Regions from separate parts of the Homo sapiens genome. Here all the other regions are linked to region 2. Evidence: promoter capture Hi-C in 16 types of primary human blood cells and fetal thymus (Javierre and others, 2016). All regions are on one chromosome and are shown on one strand. The core of a region is centred on a gene start or on the middle of the fragment in contact, and the rest is flanking DNA. Distances in the headings are between cores, read along the strand shown. Region 1 overlaps ACVR2B (activin A receptor type 2B). Region 2 holds the start of XYLB (xylulokinase). Region 3 overlaps DLEC1 (DLEC1 cilia and flagella associated protein).

What was found. Contacts are between HindIII fragments. The CHiCAGO score rates a contact against its expected background, and 5 or more counts as called.
Region 1: a contact is called between a fragment that was not itself captured here and the fragment with the promoter of XYLB in region 2, in 2 of 17 cell types (total CD4 T cells and total CD8 T cells). The highest score is 6.8, in total CD4 T cells.
Region 3: a fragment that was not itself captured here is called in contact with the fragment with the promoter of XYLB in region 2 in 2 of 17 cell types (neutrophils and megakaryocytes); the score reaches 7.2 in neutrophils.

What each region holds. Positions count from the first base shown.
Region 1 is chr3:38,486,467-38,490,926 of GRCh38, reverse strand. ACVR2B (activin A receptor type 2B) reads right to left here. Exons shown (of 11, transcript NM_001106.4): 11 at 1-4,460. Among named protein-coding and RNA genes, the nearest start is that of EXOG, 7.6 kb to the left of the region's middle. The HindIII fragment of the contact is 4,781 bases long and covers 347-4,460 here.
Region 2 is chr3:38,343,721-38,348,111 of GRCh38, reverse strand. XYLB (xylulokinase) reads right to left here and starts at 1,327. Exons shown (of 19, transcript NM_005108.4): 1 at 1,187-1,327. The coding sequence starts at 1,243. RefSeq lists enhancers at 1-718, 719-1,550 and silencers at 851-910, 921-1,160. The HindIII fragment of the contact is 4,748 bases long and covers 53-4,391 here.
Region 3 is chr3:38,100,289-38,104,442 of GRCh38, reverse strand. DLEC1 (DLEC1 cilia and flagella associated protein) reads right to left here. Exons shown (of 37, transcript NM_007335.4): 19 at 4,018-4,154. It overlaps LOC105377033 (a long non-coding RNA gene), which reads left to right. Exons shown (of 2, transcript XR_940727.3): 2 at 650-953. Among named protein-coding and RNA genes, the nearest start is that of ACAA1, 35 kb to the left of the region's middle. The HindIII fragment of the contact is 1,256 bases long and covers 793-2,048 here.

The DNA of each region.
Region 1 (4,460 bases), core at 1,488-3,987, 140 kb before region 2:
ATACTGAAAATGGCAGAATTCAAAGAGGAACACAGGAAGCACCATTCAGATGACACTCTAGACCCATCCCACCACAATGCCATGACGAGCTTGCCAGAAGCCCTTTCTTCAGTCCTTGGGAAGAGTTTTGCTTTAAAACAAGTGCCCACGCTCAGCAGGGTTCCTGCATGTGTACGTTAAAAGTCTGCAGTATCAAGAGGACCCAGATGGCGACACTGTTCAACATGAGGTCTGAGGTAACTGGTTCTTAAAATACCTGGATCACAGAAGTGCATCCAGAAATTAGGGCTGGGAAAAAGGAAAAAGGTAGAGGTTGGGGACTAGAAAAGACAAGTAGAAAAAAGCTTACAGCAGTTGCTTTTGGGGCGAAGAGAGTGATAAAAACAAAGGCACAACAGAATTACATTCCAAGACACGTGGCTGGAGAGCAGAGAAAATGTTCTTTTTATGGGGAACAGATGGGGTTGGTTTCTGGAGTGCTACTAGATCTGCTGGAACTAAATTTATTCCAAGTATAAAAAGGGTAAAGTGTAAACCTATACGCTCAACCAGAATGAATAAAAAGCACAGCTGGTTTAAAATGACACATTAGGGATTCTCTTGATAAAACTATCCCGTCCAGTGCACCTCTGTCTAGAAGCAGCAGCCTGAAGCCAGCGGGCAGGGTCTGGGGGACAGGTCTTCAGCTGGGCCTCAGGACTGGCCATTATGCATACCAGAAATTAACTTAATTATTCATTATATATCGCCACCAAAAGTCCCACACAAATAACCATCCACTCTCTGCCTAAAAATAAATAGGCTAAAATGAAGACCACTTTCCGTATTGTGGCAGTGATGCTGAGCTTCCTCAGAAAAGCAGGAAAACTCTGGAGCTATCTGAAAGATGCTCTGCTGTTACTGGGGTTCTGAGCTTCCTCACTGGGCTCCTGGCTGATTCCACAGATTGAAGCAGCGAGCCAACCCAACCATTCTCACTGACCAGAGAGGACAAAATGTGCCTGGCAGCTCTCCATTTAATTGGATCACTGCATCCACATGCCACCCTCCCCACTTTTCTGAACAATTACTTAACTGGGTAATTCTGCCCCCCAACCTGGATAATGTGATCTTAGATAATTCAGTCTGGTGGATTACTCAAACCACCAGATTCTCATTTCAAAGTTTTTGTACCTGAATCTTATTCGAGTCCCATCCCACCCCAATAGGCACCCCTATACAATTTCTGTTCCCCCAAACACTCTCACATGACTATGTCCTATGGCAAAGGCTTACAAACTAATTTTTGACCTCAGAACCCTTTGTTCAACAGAAATCTCAGGAGGAAGCACCAATGTAAAACACATTGCAGGCCCTCTCTCCTCCCAATCCACAAGAAGCTGAGCTGAATATCACTGTCCTACACAACCACAAGTGGAGTTTTGGCCAAAAAAGACCCGCAAATTGACTCCAGTCTGCCAGTGTATCACAAGAATCCATATAAACACTAAGTAAAAGTTCCACACCACTCATGCTCCAGTGTACGTTTCTCTTGAAAGGTAAAGCTCATTAGCTCTGATTACAAAATCATTCAAATTCACTAACTTTATAAAAATAATCTGTGGTATAAAACAATCTCCACACTGTGTAGAAGAAATCTGTCAAGTGATATAACTAAATATATATGTAGAACTATCGATTTTTTTAAAGTAAAGTTTCAAGTGTTGTGTATCTATTATACAACCTATTCTTTTATTTACAATGCTAACATTCTGACGCAAACATGATTAGGAGAGTCAGGGAATGAGCCCACACTCAACCAACAGAGAAGTTCCCAGGACTCAAGACAGAACTCATGCATTTGCAAGAAGACCCATCCTCACCTGCCTGAAAAACTTGTGGGTCATATTTTTCATAACTGTGAGCTCAAAAATGTAAACTTTGCAAGTGAATGTAATACTCTTCTGTAGATGTCCAGCATAGCCCAGGTTTATATAACCCCTTCCATACACACAAAGAGTGGTGTGTACATTGCTTTAGTGCCCTGTGGTTGGTTTACAGTAGTTCTCAGAATTACCTAGGCCCTAGACAATCCAAAGACACTGCCCTAGAGAAATGAAGGCAGTGCAGGGCCCATCACCACACATTGGCATTTAGAGAATATGTGTTTCAATTACTGAGGAAAAATCACTTCGGTTACCTCTATGAGCTGCCATAGGAGCAAATAAAGTATCACTGGTTTTGGCACTACAGGGGATACAGGAAGTACCACAATCAAAAAGTCATGTTTCATTCATACCTGGAAAATACCATCATGAAAATGTAAAAACTTGGTAATAATTTAAATAATGGTAAATTCTTTAAATTCAAATTCTTTTTTGAACCAAAGTTTACAGTGGACCCAAAATAAACATAAAACATTCAAAATGTCCCACTAGATAATTTGGACTTTTCTTTGTTGGCAGGCCTTTTGGAGCCACCAATTGTTTTAAAAAATGTTACTGGGTCAACCGAATTAATTTTCAAGGGGGTGTTTTTCCTACAAAACTAAATCATTATTTCAAAAATCTTTTCCAATCTTCTAAAGGTTTGGGATACATTCATAGGTAGACTGCTGGTTGCAAATCAACTATCTGGAATCTTACTTAAAGAACTATGCTTATAACCCTGAATTCATTAAACATTTACAAATCTAGACTGAGAAGATATACAGTTCATCAACTGAATTACTGGGCCTGTTTATCTAAAACATTACTGTCAATTGAGATTTAAACTCATCATTACTAGATTGAACATGTTAGCTGCTAAGTATTTCATTAGTTTAGAATTTGCAAACAGCCATTAACTAAAAGAATTCATGTCACCCCAGTGAGAAGGAGAAAAAGACACCTTGTCCCCTTCTCTTTTTGGCTGTTCGCCCAGGATGAAGGGTAGATGACTAGATTCACGGAGCTTCTTAAAAAGGTATGGTCTGATGCCCCTGAAATGGGAATCAGGCGTGGCCATCTCTCCAAAGGTGTGCCATCAAAAACTCAACAGGCTAAAATAACTGAGACTGAAAATTAAACTGAGTTAACTCCTGGAAACTGCTTTCCAATTAGTATATTTTTCTAGTGAAATAAAGTTCTCGAGAATAACTAGCTGTCCAACTTCTAGTACCAATTCTAAAAACTTACATACTTATGCTTACTGTATTATTTTAAAAACCAGCAAATCTTTGTGTTACCAATAGATGCTGGAAACTTTATACTGCATACTAAAAAAGGCAAAATTCTAGTTTCAAGAGGGCCATCCAATACTCCCACTTTAATGGAACAGCCACCTCCCCACCCTCACGGCTCAGAGCACAGGGGCCAAGTGACAGGCTTTCTGAGCCACACACAACACATGAAGGACATTCAATACACAGCTGGGCTTCCTTCCACCAGGGAAAAACCCCACACACAGCCCGAGCACACAAAGCATAGCAGGATGGAGGAAACGAGAATGTGGCCAACTGAAGAGAAAGGTGACAGAGCCCAACTACAGGATGAAGTGCTTTGCTGTCTAAGTTATGTCAAGAGGGTTAGCCTAGCCTCTTAGGGCAATGGAAGAACTATCTCTGTGGCCTGGAGATGAGAGACCCTTCCCTTTGCTAAGAATATGTGAGCAAGAGTCTCTATCCTCCTGAAGATGTTCAAGGCTGAAAAACAACCTCCTTTTTCTGCAGAAACACCCCCAAGTCCGGACATGATGTATTCAGAGTCAGAATCAGCTGGCACGTGTGGGTATGCCCTCCCCAGGCAGGACTGGTCCCACAGGCTCCTCTCCAGAGCAGACAGGACAAGAAGGCCATGCTGGACAACAAAGGCTAATAATGCTCACCATCTTCCCTCACTGCCAGGTGTCACTTTCTCCTAAGCACAGCCCACTTGCAGCCCTTGCCCCTGAGCAACTCATGCAAAGAACTCCTGCTGAGGACCAATGGTCCCAGGAGAAAACCCAGCTTATGCCAGGCCAGGATGTTCTGATGACTATGTCTACAGCCTTCCCCAATGCCCCATCATTGAGGGCCCTCTGCGTGACACTGTAATACAATGGCCTCTGTCCTCACTTGCTTCCTCCTTCTGCTCATTACTGGATTTCTCCAACTAGGGATGACTTCTCAGTTATCATAGATGCTTTCAAAGAAGATTCTTCCCCAAGGCCCATCCCTACAGCCAGGAGCCTGCTTGGATGACAGCACACTAGAAAGGAAGAAGCAAGGATCCTTGGCTACTCTCTGCTAACTTGGTCCCCTCCCACCCTGCATGGAACAGCCCCTCCCATTGACAGGGAAAATGATGCCAGGCCCCATTTTCCCCAGTCTGCCACAGAGCCTGAGGTCAAAAACAAAAAGAAACCAATTATCTGAGCCCACCAAAAGTGCATGTCACATGAAGTCATTATGGAAAAGAGCACAGGCAGAGGCTCTATGACCCAGTAAATTCAAAGCAGGGCTC
Region 2 (4,391 bases), core at 78-2,577:
CCATGATTGTGGTCCAGAGACATTAATGTCCCACTGAAGCAATCTCCAAGCTTGGGAGTATAACTCCTTTCCTGGACAGATGGGAAAACTGAGGTCCAGCAAGGCAACTCGAGTCATCCAGAGTCCCACAGGACGTTCCCCCAAGGACTGGCCAGAGGCCTGCCTCCCTTGACCCATTCGAGAAGAGGGGTTTGACTGCAACTGTGTATATTTCCCAAGTACTTTAAAGGAAAAGGTGCCCCCGGTCACCCCATGCCCTCTTTGAAGGCAAATTTTGATTTGCTTGCCTGTCTGCAGGGCGTTGGCAGCAGCACACTGCTCCTCTGGCCAGCAGTCCTGGGTGCACAGACCAGGCAAGCTGGTGTCAACGAAGGGCGGTCACAGGGTAAAGTCCACTTGTACACTATGCATTTCACTTTTTTCTTTTTTTTTTTTTGAGACAGGGTCCCGTTCTGTCGCCCAGGCTGGAGACCGGTGACGCCATCTTAGCTCACTGCAATCTCCACCTCCTGGGCTCAAGCGATCCGCTTCAGCCTCCAGAAAAACTGGGACTACAGGTGTGCTCCACCATGCCCGGCTAATTTTTGTATTTTCTGGTAGAGACCGGGGTTTCTCCATATTGCCCAGGCTGGTCTCGAACTCCTGGGCTCAAGCGATCCACTCGCCTCGGCCTCCCAAAGTGCTGGGATTACCGGCAAGAGCCACCAGGCCTGGGCCATTTCAATTTTTAAAAAAAGGTTTTGGGCTATAATCTGCTTCCAGGTCACTGGTTGTGCATGTGCGCAGGGCTACCCGCCTGTCTGTTCCCCTGCCTTACAGTAGCTGACTTCCTTCGGATCCCCGTCACTGGGTGCCCAGAACAGCGCAGGAACCCGCCGAGTCCTCCGGCCCCTCTGGGCACCGGGGGTCCTGCCGAGGAGCGCCTGCAGTTTCCTGGGGTAGCTGGGTCCAGGCGGGGTCGAGGCCGCATCTTGCGAGCGGGTGGCATTGGCAGGGCATCTCCGGGCGAGGGCACCGGCGCCCCACGGCCGCGCGCAGGGCAGGGGCGCGGGGGCCCCGGGAAGCCCGAGAGGTAGGCGCGCCCGCGGCCGGGCCCATGTTTTCCCGCGTCCGGGTGACAGCCCGCCCCCTACCCCCACCGAAGCGGAGGAGGCGGCCCCGTGGCCCTGCGGCCAGGCGACTGTACCTGCTGCGTGCTGAAGTCCCAGCCCAGGCAGCAGCGGCGAGGGGCGTGCTCCGCCATGGCCTTTCGGGTAAGGCTGCGCGTCCGTCAGTCCGTCCGTCCGCCACGCGGCGTGATAGTCGCCGCGCTCCAGCGCCCAGAGACGCAGGGGCCCGCCCCTAGCTCCGCCCGGCCGGACTGTGGACCGGAGTCACGAGGCGGGCTTGCGCTCTGGCGCCGCCTGCGGGGCTACGCGAGCCGGGACCGCGTCCTGTGCAATCGACGGTGCCCCCACGCAGCCCGCTTTCCTTCGAAGCGCACCCCCTCTGGTTCTCCCCATCTTCATCTTATGTCTTCATGGGCCGTGCCCTGACACCGCCTGGCTTCCCTTAGAGGACGCCTGGGCCAGAGGTTTCAGCTATAAGCCGGCTTGTCTTTCAGAGGGAGCCTGCCTGTCCTTCTGGAGGCCCTGGGCCTGCCGTCCTCTGTGGCTGTATCTTGGCACTGGAGCAGCTGTCCACCCATGGTGGTGACTCAGGGGCCACAGGGAAATGGGCCCTGGGGTTGGAAGCACTGAGTCCTGACAAGCCCTATCCAGATCCAGCAAATCTGAATGGTTCCCAGTGTGTCACATCCCACCTGTGTATTTAAACTCAGCGGCTCCTGATGCCCCCACGGGGAGACACTCCTTCCTGGAGTCAATTGGTATTGATGGTCTAATGTGTGCCAGGCATGGTAAAGGGGAATGAGAACCAGAGTCAGACCCACTCCTTTTATTCATGGAGCTGAGGGCGCCTGTCCCACCAGCTACATCCTTCCCGTCCCTAAGACTAACTGCTTTCCAGAATTCCTCCCCAAACCCAGCATGTGAGAGGCTCCTCCTACGAACTTCCCAGCCCACCAGTGCCCTTTTCATGCACTTGCAATGGTCTGTCTCCCTTGCTGAACTTGAGCTGCTTGGAGTCTACATGGGATCCTCTTCACTGCTAGAACAAGAAGGGGCCAACATACTTGTCCTCCAAGACATTCACAGCTTATTGGGGACTCAGCCCCTCCAGCAGTCACCACCTGTGACAATAGACAAATACTGGATACTAGCTAGATCAGAAACAATTATGCAACCTGCTGAGCACATTTAATCGTCACAATGATGCTGGGAAGTAGGTACTATTATCTCCACTTTTAAAAAATTTTAAATAAAGGTATCTAAGTATCTAATCTAATTAAGATTAGATTACTGCATTTTAATCTAATCTTAACTGCTTGATGACTTTTTTTTTTTTTTTTGACAGAGTTTCACTCCTGTCACCCAGGCTGGAGTGCAGTGGCGTGATCTCCGGTCACTGCAACCTCCACCTCCCTGGTTCAACTGATTCTTCTGCCTCAGCCTCCCATGTAGCTGGGATTACAGGCGCACACCACCGCACCCAGCTAATTTTTTTTTTTTTTTGAAACGGAGTTTCACTCTTGTTGCCCAGGCTGGAGTGCAATGGCGTGATTTCAGCTCATTGAAACCTCTGCCTTCTGGGTTCAAGTGATTCTCCTGCCTCAGCCTCCCGAGTAGCTGAGATTACAGGCATCCGCCACCACGCCCAGCTAATTTTGTATTTTTAGTAGAGACGAGGTTTCTCCATGTTTGTTAGGCTGGTCTTGAACTCCCGACCTCAGGTGTTCCGCCTGCCTCATCCTCTCAAAGTGCTGGGATTACAAGCGTGAGCCACTGCGTATGGCTCTAATTTTGTATTTTTAGTAGAGATGGGGTTTCACCATGTTGGTCAGGCTGGTCTCAAACTCCGACCTCATGTGATCCACCTGCCTCAGCCTCCCAAAGTGCTGGGATTACAGGCGTGAGTCACCGTGCCTGGCCAATGACTTTTTAAAAATGTATGTATATACCCATATAAACACTGAGATCAAAACAGAACATTTCCACCACTCCAGAAGTTTCCTTCATGACCCTTCCTAAACTCCCAAGGCAATCACTATTCTGATGTCTACCAGTATAAACTCACTTTGAACTTCGTATAACTTACCATCTTCATTTTACAGAGTGAGAAACTGAGGTGTAGAGAAGTTAGTTAACGTGGCCTAATGAAACTGCCATTGCAAAATTATAACTGAGACAGTGAAAGAGATCTGACTTAACCAATTCCATCTTGCTTCTAGCCTCCAAGCTGTCATTGCTTATTCATGGGCATAGGCAGAACTAACTTTGGGAGGAACTTACTTTATAGTTTAAAACAAAGATGATAACAGCTCTTTCCCAAAACAAATCTCCTTCTTGCCTGTGACTAGACTGCCTTTGTAGGACTAACAAATTAGCCACAAGATTAGAAATTAAGGTTTAGGAGTCATGCAGCTGGAGACTACAAGATTCTGACCATCACCAAATTGCTCCTGGGGATAACATCACTATTGTAAAACCTAAGATCAGTGCTTGAGATATTTTAGAGACCCTGCACTTGATGGATCAGCTGGTACCACCCAGCTCCATAAACTGGCTCATCTGATCTTGTGGCCCCCACCCAGGAACTGACTCAGCACAAGAAGATAGCTTCAAATTCCTATGAGTTCATTTCCGACCCAACCAATCAGCACTCCCAACTCACTGGCCTCCACCCACCCACCAAATTATTCTTAAAAACTCTGATTCCCAAATGCTCTGGGAGACTGATTTGAGTAATAATAAAACTCTGGTCTCCTACACAGCTGGCTCTGTGTGAATTACTCATTCTCTATTGCAGTCCCCCTGTCTTGATAAATTGGCTCTGTCTAGGCAGTGGGCAAGGTGAACCTGTCGGGTGGTTATACATCCTTTGCTCAGATCATTGGAACACTCCTTCTTTTGTACAGAATGAGGTGTTGTCCAATTCTAGAATCACAGATAAAATCCATTTAGGATCTTTAAATTTGTTGTAATTTTGTCTTTTGACAGCAGATGTCAGCTCCCAATAAGAGTGGGTTAGTTTGCACAGAAAGGGCTCAGAGTGGACAGATGAACCCACATAGGGAGCTGTGAAGGCTATCAAAGACACAGAAAGAGATCATGAGAGAGGTGTAATGGTGGAATTCACTAGACCGAGCTTGTCCAACCTGCAGCCCATGGGCTGCATGTGGCCCAGGATGGCTTTGAATGCAGCTCAACACAAATCAGTAAACTTTCTTAAAATATTATAAGATTTTGGGGTTTTCTAGATATACAATCATGTCGTCTGCAAACAGGGACAAT
Region 3 (4,154 bases), core at 171-2,670, 240 kb after region 2:
CTCTGTTGCCCAGGCTGGAGTGCAGTGGCACAATCTCGGCTCACTGCAGCCTCTGCCTCCCACGTTCAAGCTATTCTCATGCCTCAGCCTCCCGAGTAGCTGGGATTACAGGTGTGCACCACCACACCCGGCTAATTTTTGTATTTTTAGTAGAAATGGGGTTTCACCATGTTGGCTAGCCTGGTCTCGTACTCCTGACCTTAGGTGATCCGTCCACCTCAGCCTCCCAAAGTGCTGGGATTACAGTCATGAGCCACTGTGCCTGGCCAAGAAAAAAGTCTAAATTGACCTATATAAGAAATTCAGTTACAAACATACCTCATGTTATTATGCTCTGCTTTATTGTACTTCACAGATACTGTGATTTTTACAAATCGAAGGTTTGTGACAACGCTGCATTGAGCAAGCCTATCAATGTCATTTTTCCAATTGCATGTCCTCATTTCATGTCTCTGTGTCATGTCTTGCAAACTTTTTTGCTATAGCTGTTATGGTAACCTGTGATTAGTGATCTTTGATGTTACTACTGTAATTGTTTTGGGGTGCCATAAACAGCAATCATATACGATAATGGGCTCAACTGGTAAATGCTGTGTGCATTTTGACTGCTCTACTTACTGGTCATTTCCGTCTCTCTCCCTCTCCTCAGGCCTCCCTATTCCTTGAGACACAACAATATTGAAATTAGACCAACTGATAACCCTACAATAGCCTCTAAGTCTTCAAGTGAAAAGAAGAGTCGTACGTATCTCACTTTAAATCAAAATGATTAAGCTAAAAAATGATTAAGCTTAGTGAGGAAGGCACATTCAAAGCTGACACAGGCAGAAAGCTAGCTTTGTGCCAAACAGACAAATTGTGAATGCAAAGAAATGTAATATCTAGCAAATGCCCTATTTGTGAAAATTTTGAAGTAAAAGATAATAAAGCAAATAAAATGTTATGCAAACAAGGAAAAGAAAATAGGAGAAAGAAATAATGTGATCAGGTTAACTGATAAAACAGAGGAGAACAAAACTGCTGCTTGAAATCCCTGCACAGGTTACGTGCAATGCAATCCTTAATGATGGAATGAGGGCATCAAAGGGCGGGGGAGCTGAGCAAAGCACTGCTGAAGATCCATTGGCTTAGCCAGGTCAGGGCTCCAGCCCCAGAGCTCAGAGCAACACATGGAAGAGTGGGCTGCCCCAGGCACAGAAGTCAAATATCACATGATCTCACTCAAGTGGGTGCTAAAAACGTGTACATATGGACATAGAGATTGGAATGATAGACAACGGAGACTCGGAAGGGTGAGGGCATAGGAGGGAAATGGGTGATGAGAAATTAGTTCATGAGTACAATGTATGCTATTTGGGTGATGGATACCCTAAAGCCCTGACTTGACCACTATATAATCTACGCACATAACACAATTGCACATGTACCCCATAAATTTGTACAAATAATAAAAATTAAAATTGAAAATTAAGAAAAAGACTGGGCTGCCACAGTATTTGCCCCCACTGAAGACTGTGGGTATCACGCTGGAGAGAGGCCAGGGCAGAGCCTGCAGTAACACTGGACCTCTCAACTGTCATGAGGAGGAAACAACCAGAAAGATGCTATTCCTTCATTCTTATTTATGAATGAAGGCACGAATTGATTTGTGTAGCTGCCCAGTATGGGTTTTCTCCACTGTTTGTTTAGGGCTGTTTTCCCCAAAGGTCCCTTTCTCTGATGGATTCAGGCTAGCTGTGTGCTCTGAGGGTGGTGACTCACATGTACTTCATCCCTTAGAATAGGGGTGCTCTCCACATCTACCCCCTTTTACTCAGAAGAAACTTACAACACCAGCTCCTTATGCAAATCAACTTCCTCCTCCATTCAAAAACAGGACTGGACAGGCAAAGATTACTAGAAGCAGAAGAAAACTCAAAAAGTAAAGAAGAACTCCAACATCTGGGAAAACAGAAATTCATTTTCTTGGGGGAATCTGAGAGGCTGTTGCATTGATAAGACTATAACAGATTACTATAGAAAAGGAAAGACGCAAGAACAACAAAGCTTGAAATTTCGAAACATGATTGCCTCTTCTGGAGACAGATCCTCCCTGTCACCCAGCAGGGGAAGGGGCGGGTACATGACCCACACAAGAGCAAGAGCAATCAGGGCCTATCTCTGCAAAGAGCCAGATTGGCTCTCAGAGATTGTTAAGGTGGGAGTGTGTGAGCCTGGAGCTCTAAGTGGCCTCTCCCCAAGGCAGAGTGCGAAGGGCCCTTGTCAATAGGGGAGAGAAGGGCCCACAAAAAAAGAGCAGTAGATGGGTTGGGGCTGGGATGGAGGTAGAGAAGGGGGAAAGAGGGTAGAGAAAGAGAGGAAGCAGAAGACCAGACAAAGGGAAAAGTGTTGGGCCCTTGGATTCAGCAAGGTGGGAATGCCCAGTTACGTGAGCCAATGCTTCCTCTTTTTTGCCTAAGTTGGTAATGTCTGTGTTTCCATCACCTGCTACTGTAAACATTCTGATAATACAAGGTCCTTTCAGGAGAAAGAACAGAGACAGAAAAGGAAAGGAAATAAGCACAGACTTAATAGAAAGCCCTTCCCCTGAGCTGCAGGCAGACTTAGCCTTCACATCTAATGCCCGCAAATTGCCCTGAAGGACCAATGCAAAGACTCATACCTAGACCTGTATTTGTTATCACAGGAGGGGACATTTGAACAACTGTCAGATGGTCAAGTATACAAAGTCCAACAACATTTGTCATGGTGAAAGTGTGGGGTAATGGCTAGTCTCACACACTGTAGGCAGAAGTATAAAATGACACAGTCTTTTTGGAGGATAATTCAAGAGCATCCACAGAGATTTAAATGAGCATTTAAATGTTTTTACAATGAAACACCAAATATATGCAAAAATGAGTATAAAACATATATACAGTTTAAACATATATATAGTTTAACGAATAATAAAACAACATCTATGTACTACCTCCACACAACTTTAGAAACAAAATATTATCACCAGCCAGCTTAAGAAAATGAATATATATATATATTCATTCACTGCAACCTCTGCCTCCAGGATTCAAGTGATTCTTCTGCCTCAGCCTCCTAAGTAGCTGGGACTACAGGCGAGCACCACCATACCTGGCTAATTTTTGTATTTTTAGTAAAGACGGGGTTTCACCATGTTGCCAGGCTGATCTCGAACTCCTGACCTCGTGATTTGCCTGCCTCGGCCTCCCAAAGTGCTGGGATTACAGGCGTGAGCCACCATGCCCAGCAGGAAAATGAATATTTTATTTGAAAATAATTTGGGAAGGAGTGGGGAGAAGGAGATAGGGGATATGGATGAAACAGTACTTGCAGTGAGTTGACAATTATTGAAGGGAGGAAAGAGTATGTGGAGGTTTATTATACTATTCTTTCTGTTTTTATATATATGAGAAGTTTTCCACTAGAAAGAAAGAAAAGGAGGGAAGTGGGGGAGCGGAGGGAGAATGAAGAAGAAAAAAAGGAATACTACCAATACCTTTGAAACCTCTAGCATGTTCCTCCCAGAATACAATGGTATGTGCTTATTTAAATATGTCACACTTTTTAAATGTCCATTCTCCTGTTGACAGACAGTGGTTTTTTCTAGTTTTTCCTGTAGGAACAGTCCAGTCTGAGCATTCCAACATGAGCACACATCTCCCACTGTGCATGTATAAGGATTTCCCTGGGAGTATACTCAGAAGGGCAAACACTAGCTGATGCTAACGTAGTTTCGAAAGTAGTTATACTAATTTACATCTCTTTAATACACACACCCTAGAAAGATATATACATAATATTATCAGTGGATCATCCCTAGGGAATGGATTATGCGTCATTTTGAGTTTCTTTTCTGTAATTTACAAATTTTATAGAATACTAATTTTCTGGATTCAATAGTTTTAAATCCAGAACATCTCTAGATAAATATATAATATAGATAAATACATCACGAATATGCATAGTTTGTTGTAGTGGCTCTTCCCACGGCACCCTTACCTCCAGGCACCATTTTCCACCTCCAGCTCCAGGACGGTCTCCAGATGCTGGCAGTGCAGGGCCTCCAAGGTGATGTCCACCCTGCACTCCCCCAGAGAGTGAAGCTGGCCACTCGAAGGCTCAATGTCGAAGGGAGA